2 separate regions of the Homo sapiens genome follow, and region 1 is linked to region 2. Evidence: promoter capture Hi-C in 16 types of primary human blood cells and fetal thymus (Javierre and others, 2016). All regions are on one chromosome and are shown on one strand. Each heading gives the region's core, a stretch centred on a gene start or on the middle of the fragment in contact. The rest is flanking DNA. Distances are from core to core; before and after follow the strand shown.

What was found. The method cuts DNA at HindIII sites, captures the fragments that hold promoters and counts their contacts. A CHiCAGO score of 5 or more calls a contact.
Region 1: a contact is called between a fragment that was not itself captured here and the fragment with the promoter of ZC3H10 in region 2, in 1 of 17 cell types (monocytes). The highest score is 7.1, in monocytes.

What each region holds. Positions count from the first base shown.
Region 1 is chr12:57,539,047-57,543,106 of GRCh38, reverse strand. The region is part of intron 2 of DCTN2 (dynactin subunit 2); the gene reads left to right. Among named protein-coding and RNA genes, the nearest start is that of DCTN2, 6.1 kb to the left of the region's middle. The HindIII fragment of the contact is 6,101 bases long and covers 1-4,060 here.
Region 2 is chr12:56,116,511-56,120,364 of GRCh38, reverse strand. It overlaps ZC3H10 (zinc finger CCCH-type containing 10), which reads right to left and starts at 2,099. Exons shown (of 3, transcript NM_032786.3): 1 at 2,047-2,099; 2 at 1,214-1,277. RPL41 (ribosomal protein L41) reads right to left here and starts at 3,732. Exons shown (of 3, transcript NM_001035267.2): 1 at 3,566-3,732; 2 at 3,154-3,176; 3 at 2,398-2,883. The coding sequence starts at 3,577. The coding sequence ends at 2,841. RefSeq lists a silencer at 2,375-2,424. The HindIII fragment of the contact is 1,863 bases long and covers 1,375-3,237 here.

The sequences.
Region 1 (4,060 bases), core at 14-2,513, 1.4 Mb before region 2:
AAGTGCTGGGATTACAGACGTGAGCCACCATGCCCAGCCTCAGTCACCTTCTTAACCCCTGACAACAGCATTCTCCGCCTTAATCTTCAGTTTATTTTCAACTTTAATTTTATCAGTTTTTAAAGTAGGTAATGTATGCACAGGGAACAGAGGATTCAAGGGTAAGTAGTGAAAAATCTGCCTCCCACCTCTGCCTACCACCACTCAGTTCTCTTCCCTAGAGACAACCAATATGGATAGACTCTTGTGGAACCTTTCAGGGGGTCTCCAGATTTCTTTTTGGTTTTTGAGACAGAGTCTCACTCTTTCCCCCAGGCTGGAGTGCAGTGGCACAATCTTGTCTCACTGCAACCTTTGCCTCCCCGGTTCAAGCGATTCTCCTGCCTCAGCCTCCCAAGTAGCTGGAATTACAGGCATGTGCCACCACACCTGGCTAATTTTCTGTATTTTTAGTAGAGATGGGGTTTCACCATGTTGGCCAGGTTGGTCTCGAACTCCTGGCCTCAAGTGATCCATCCATCTTGGCCTCCCAAAGTGCTGGGATTACAGGCGTGAGCTACCATGCCAGCCGGGTCTCCAGATTTCTGTCTAAAGGAATAGTCAAGTTGTGTTGACCCTCACTGCTCCATAACTTTCTTCCTGTGATTCCTCCACTGTGGAAGAAATTGGGCTACTAAAGGAAAAATGTCCTCAAACATCCCTTAAAGATTTAAATTGCTAATTTAACTTAAACATAAACATTTTCCGATTCCCATAGTGGGGAGGATGGGGGAGGAAAGCATAAAAGATTTAAATTTTGCTACAGATGATCGTGAATTTTTTTTTTTTTCAAGATGGAGTTTCACTCTTTTTGCCCAGGCTGGAGTGCAATGGCGTGATCTCAGCTCACTGTAACCTCCACCTCCCGAGTTCAAGAGATTCTCCTGCCTCAGCCTCCTGAGTAGCTGGAATTACAGGTGTCCATCACCACACCCGGCTAATTTTTTGTATTTCTAGTAGAGACAGGGTTTCACCATGTTGGCTAGGCTGGTCTCAAACCCCTGACCTCAGGTGATCCACTCACCTAGGCCTCCCAGAGTGCTGGGATTACAAGCATGAGCCACTGTGCCTGGCCAATCCTGATTTTTCTACTATCCCTTTAAAACAATTTTAGCAGGAAGTAAAATCTTCTAAAACAGGAATGGACCAGGAAAGTGCACGGGCTGTAGCCCTTTCCTCCTCAATCTGGGAAGATCTCTTTGCACTTCAGACACTCCCAGGTTAATTGGGGCAATAGGCTTGCTTGGAGATTTTTCTTAAAATGTTTGGAAAACTAATTCCCAAATAGAATTCCACCCACACACACACCCCGACCCTAACCCCTGGGCCCACAGCCTGCCTTGGGTCAGTGAGGCTTTCTGCTCATGGCTTTTGAACTGCTGGAATAAGGGAAGTAAATTAAGAAAAACCTCATTAGAAACAATTTAGCTTCTCTCTTTATGGCATAACTACCCGCAGTAAAAGGGGAAAAAATGACCTAGCCATAGTTTGATGGGGCCCTGGCAGAGGCTTCATTTCTCCAAAAGGTAGATATTACTGGACACTCCTGAGATGAGAAACAGTACTTCCTTACAGTTTAGAAGATCCTGGAGTATGCTTGATTGTGTTCATTGACTGTTGGCGCACTTGAACTTACCTGAGTTTTTCCTAATGCTTCCCCCATCCTCCCTCCTCACCACCTTGCCTGGACACTAGTTTGCACAAGTAAGACCATTCAATGCTTCTTCTCTGCATGTTTTTTTCATCTGCCATCTCGCATGCAATGCTCTGCCACTGTGCTATTGTTGTAGCTAATCGTTTTAAATTCCAGTGAGTCCCTGGCTGGGTCACTGAGGGGCCTGCTGGCCTTATGTTTAAAGATCATTAATCAAGGGTTAGAAACAGCTATGATCCATGAATCATTGTCTCTTCCCCTTGTGAGGTCTGCAGAGTAAAACTGTCCAGTGGAGGATGGGATAGAAGCATGGAGGCTTTAAATGTTTTTGAACATGAGGCATTTAGGGGCTGGAGTTAGAAGGCAGTTTCCTTTCTCCTCCTCAGACTAAGATCAAATGAAGATTTTTTTATGGAATGACTTTTAGCTATTCTAGACAAGGATAGAAAACAAAAGGGATGACAGCCACAGTCCTCAGTTCTTGGCTGTATGTGGATTATCTCTGGGAAAAACTCATTTTAATATTCCCCTATGCTAGGTCTTTAGAGAAATGTAAATGGGATGAGAAGGAGGTTTATATGCAATTGTAAGATAACTTGGATTATTTGTGCTTTTGTGAGTCTTTCTGTTTCTGCACCCCTCCTTTTGAAATGGATGGATGGTCAGCAATATATTGATCCATCCCGGACAGTTTTACTCTACAGCTCTGTCCATCTTCCTTGTCATCATGGTTTTGAAGTACCCTGGCTGCAGTGTTGGCGTACAGCCTGAATAGGCTCAGAGAGTAACAGTGGCCACTTTCCCTGTCTGATTTAGAACCTCAGATCTTGCCCTCTGAGGCACAGCCACTTAGCCAAACAGCCCTGGGGGGTCTGGGAGTCCCTTAGTGAAAGAGACTGGGAGTCACGTACTAGGTAAGCTGGCACCCGGGGCCAGGGCACTTGAAATCTTCCAATCAAGGTGACTAGTACTACTCCAGGTTATGCAGGAATCATGCCTAAAATCTCATCAACCTTCAACCCACCCATAGGACAGACCTGGAGGTGGTATATACTATCTGCAAACTAATATACCACTTTTCCTTTTATTTGATTTTCTGTCCTCCCTATTCTGCCCAATCCGCATGGTTTGAAATTGAGCTTATGGCCCATTGTCTTCTTTCTCTCCTTGAGTTTCTCCCAAGCTGGTTTTAGCTTGGTGGGACAAATCAGAGAAAGGTATAGTGTGTGTACTTCTCCTTTGTGTTTGCATGTTTGCACTTATGGGTGCTTACACCCACTCTATGCAGAGACATCCCAGCCTCGACCACAGGATCTGGAGCCACCTCTACCCTGAGCTGAAAGAGGAATTTTTTTTTTTTTTTTGAGACAGTCTCACTCTGTCACCCAGGCTGGAGTGCAGTGGCATGATCTCAGCTCACTGCAACCTCCGCCTGCCGGGTTCAACTGCAACCTCCACCTCCCGGGTTCAAATGATTCTCCTGCCTCAGCCTCCCGAGTAGCTGGGATTACAGGCGTCCACCACCATGCCTGGCTAATTTTGTATTTTTAGTAGAGATGGGGTTTCACCATGGTGGCCAGGCTGGTCTCGAACTCCTGACCTCAAGTGATCCACCCACCTCGCCCTCCCAAAGTGCTGGGATTACAGATGTGAGACACCGTGCCTGGTGGAAAGAGGAATCTTGGCTGGGACCCTAGCATCGTCTAGGGAACAGAGAGGTTGTGATTAAGAGGTATCTGGATGAAATCTTGGTGAAAGGAAGCACTTGTTTTTAATCCCACCATGGTTTTTCATATGCATACAACCATCCTCAACCATCTGCCCATCAGCAGAGCTCCTAGAAAGGCAGGACATACCACTGGATATCCCCTTCTGGCAGTTCTAAACCAGCCTTGCCCGGAAGTGGGAGCCTTATCTATGTGGCCCAGACTCAAATAAGGCCTCTTGGAAATACTCTCACCCTTCCCCTTTGTTTACCCTCCAACCCCTGTGAATCTTGTGAACAGAGGGTTGAAGAAACATGTTCTGCACATGTGCTAGTACCTGTGAATCTTGATGTCCCCTGGACCCTCTGTGTAAGTACATCATGGCAGAATTGCTCTAGATCCTTCGGAGCTGCAGGGTGAGTTACCAGCCACTCAAGGTGGAGGCAAACATGCCAGGCTGCACAAGGGACCAGGAGCAGCTCTGCCTCTTCCCTTGCAGGAGGAAATGAGAACGGGGCTATACTTAGGTACTTCATCATTCCTTTAACTCACCATCTGTACCTGACATATTTTGTTTTGTCTCACCTAAAGTCATATCAGACTTCCTACCTGATCACTCTCATTGTGACTGATTCTGCCATCCAAATGTCTAATTTTTCAC
Region 2 (3,854 bases), core at 850-3,349:
CAAAAGCCCCTCCCAGGGTTTTGTGCACCTGGTCTGGGTCAGAATGATTCACACTTGCCTGGCTAACGGAGGAGGGATAGGCCCAGGACGGAGCAGGGAAAAAATAGTGTTGGAATTCATCTTTCCTTTTGAGCTGACCTTATTAAAGTTGTGGAAGTGAAATTAAAACTGCAGTCAGTATCTGAATAGTCTGGAAGGAAACTGGGAATAGTGCCCAAGATGGGCTACTGAGCTACTAGGGCTGTAGAAGATGGGACACTGGTAACAAAACTTCCTTAACCCCCTTTCCTTTTCCTCAGGTAAGGGCTCTGTACACATCAAATCTCTAGAAGCCAAGAAATCCTGGGTGAAGAGACTGGTGTCACCAGCTTGAGGGGAGTCTCAAAACCTGTCATATTTTAGTATTCCCTCCCAGCCATCATCACTGTCAACGGCAGAGAGGTAAGCCCCTTCTATTTCAGGATAGGAGTTCTAAGTTAGAGTCTCCACTTCTAGATTTCCTAGGACAAACCATTTGTGATAAGGTCAAGTGGGAAGGAGTTAATTTCACAGGAACAAGTGACCTTTCCCCATTCCCCACCCCCTTCCTACTCCCCTATGTGAAGATCCCACTGACATCCAACCACACCATTCCTCAACCCAGAAAGATCCTCTTTATTTATAGACTCCATAAAAGCTTTTTAAGTCTCCTATTTCCCAAGAGAGCTTTGGAATGTCAGTCCACTGCCCTGGTTCTAGCCCTCCCCTCTCTCCACCCCCAGTAAGACCTGGAGTCCCTGCTACCACGTGTCTGACCTCCCAAGCCTTTCCTATGCGGTGTTCAGGCTCCCCCTGCTGCTGAAATAGGAAAACTTCATATTGTTCCCTTTGAGAATAAGGGAATCTTTCCTAATTCCTTTGGCCTTGACCTACCCCCACCCCACTACTGTGACTTTGCCTTCAGATCTCCCTAAAATGAACTAACCAAACCAGAGGCCAGAGTTACAAGAGAATCTGTAAGAGGGTCCTCCTCCTCTAAAGAGAGGTAGTCCCAGAATAATAGAAGCAATCAAGGAAAGAAGTGGTAAAAGAAGATACAAACTTTTAGTAAAGGGGAATGACCAGGTGAAGTACAAATGCCATCTATCCAAGCCTGGCTCACGTTGCAAGTCGCACCAGCAGCAGATAATTAGTTATGATGCTCCTCCCCACCCCACTCTCCCAGAATTGATACCTGAGGTAGCTCAGGTGAAGTCCGGGGCTCCTGTGGGTCTCCACCTCCACATCACTGCTGGGTTCTGAGCAGGAAAAAAACAGAGACTTGGGTGGAAGAAGGAGTAAGAGTGGAGGACTATGGGGTGGTTGTCACAAGAAATCTGACAAAACGGCAAAGCTTCGAGAACGTGAGGATTTCCTCAGGGTTCAAACTGAACTTCACCTGTCCAAGGGAGAAGTTGCCAGTAAGAAGAGTAAAACTAATTCGGAGGGACTGGGAGGAGGGGTTGGAAAACCAGCCCTGAGTGAACAAAGAGTGCGGGGCGCCCTGCCTCAAGATGAAAGAGGATGTGAGGGTCAGAGCACCGCCAAGGGCTGGAGTTAGTAATGGCTAGTGAGGAACCTCAAAAAGGCAGCGTCTGACAGTGCATTGGGATGGCCGATTAGACTTGAAGGCAGTGATTGTGACGCTTCCCAACACCCTAGAGTTTGCGAAAGAAGTCCTAGGAGTTTTCCCGCAGCAAGTCTTCTAGCTTGGCAGGTTCCGTGCAGTGCCGCCGGCGCTCAGCCGTGGGCTACGTGAATGGGACACTAAGGGCGCGCGAAGTGAAGCGGGGAGCTGGAGCTCCAGGTGTCATCAAGCTGAGGGGATGGGCAGGGTTGTGACGTCACGAAGCTGGCGTTTGCTCGCGATGCGGGGTCACTCAGAAAAGGGGCACTGCCCTGGGGTGTGAGGACGAGCCAGCTCGGTTCTGGGGGGCCTTCTGTGGCCTGGCCGAGCCCAGCCGCTGGGCCGGCCCCGACTCCTCCCCTCCGGGCGCGGCCTCCACCTAAGTCTCCCGCCTCCCTCACCTGCCGCCGCCGCCGTAGTTGCTGCTGCCGCCTGCCGGTCCTCTAGCTTCGACAAAGAGCCGCCTACCCGATCGCTCTTCCGCTTCCTGCGGAAGAAGTGACGCTCTAGCCAGCAGACCCGGAACCATACTCTATGGTGTATGAAGTACGCGTGCGACATGCCGCAGGGCGTTCCCAGCACGCTTTGCGTGTCACTATGGCAACCCAACCCAAAGGCACGACATGGTCTAAGCGGTAGTCGCCAAGGCAGCCCTCCTGGAAAGGGGCGGTACCAGCATTGGCCCCTAATAACCCGCGAAACCTAAAACCTGCCTCCAGAGACGTACCATATCCCATCCAACTCCAGCGAGATGCAAACCACACCACGTAACCCGGGCTGTTGCCTTTATAGCTTTGATACCCTCCATAGCACAGGTAGTGACAGGGCAAACTCTAATGACAGAAAACCCCCACCCGATGGAACCATAAAAAACATAATAGACAAGATGATTTAATTCTTCAGCTAAAACAGCGGAAGAGGTGATTTATTATATGGTTGTTACACTCGGCCACAAATAAACACAGAAATAGTCCAGAATGTCACAGGTCCAGGGCAGAGGACCAACATGGGCATTTTGTTTATGAGCAAGGTGGGTCTCAGAGGTGATCGGCGATCAGAGGGCGATGAAGTTCTAGATCCATTGAGACAAGCTCTAGACAGTAGCATGCAGTCCCACAACTTGTACCAGCATCCCCAGCGTCTGGCATTCCATGTTTCTGCTCCTGTGGCCTCCACGGTGCAACAAGCTAGCGGTTTACTTGGACCTCTGCCTCATCTTTCTTCTTTTGCGCTTCAGCCTGAAAAGCAGACACAGGAATGGAATACACCTCAAACCAGAGTTGCCTTTCCCTCCCACATTAAATCAAACGTCCACATAAAGAATGAGGTGGTAAAATGAACAAGCACTACGGTTCTATCGTTCTCTGTTCTGTTAAATCCTGGCTCCAGGGAGAAAACACTCAAACGTTTTTCTCCTAAAGATCTTTTAAGATTTCCAAACCAAATGTTTCTCCTAAGTTTTGTCCAAGGAACTTCCCTCCTCCTGGGCTGGCAAAGTCTCAACGTACCTGCGCATTCGCTTCTTCCTCCACTAGCAACCGATCACAAGCAGCAGATAATTAAAAAAAAAAAAAAAAAAAAGGGATGAAGCTTATTAGTAGGCTTAGCAAGGATATGAAATGCACTCTTTAGAACCGGACAGATTCTTAACCAAGAAGTATGAAAGATTGGTCGTAACAACTACATCAGTAACTTGGACACCCTCCCAACATAAGATCAGAATTCCACCCTTTTCTAAGCCCACCCTCTCTACCCATAGCACTTAACCGCTAGCTCTCTCACAAACTACCTTCTCTCTCCCACCAGCTCTTGGGCACCCTTGAAACCCAGTAGTTCAGGAGGTATGGCGGACTTGCCTTCGTCTCCTCGCTACTACTCGCCAACTCCTACCTCCCAAGCTTACTACCAGGAACCGCTCACCTTGGCTCTCATGGCGCAGAGGTTTCTACAGGGAAAGAGAGAAAGGCTACAGTTAGTTTGCTGTGATGATGCTAAGTGCCGAGGTCAGATGTCTATGGATTGTACACGGAATCCCAACGCAGGAACCAAAAAACACTCACCCAAAAAAATGGCGCTAAGGCCGAGAGAAAGGCGAAGTTCCGTCTACGGCTATTTAATGGAGCGCCGGGTGTCGTCACTTCCGCTTTCACGCCCTTTGCCCCCCCCAAGGGCGGGGCTACCCAATGGGCGTAACAGTGGTTTTCGGACC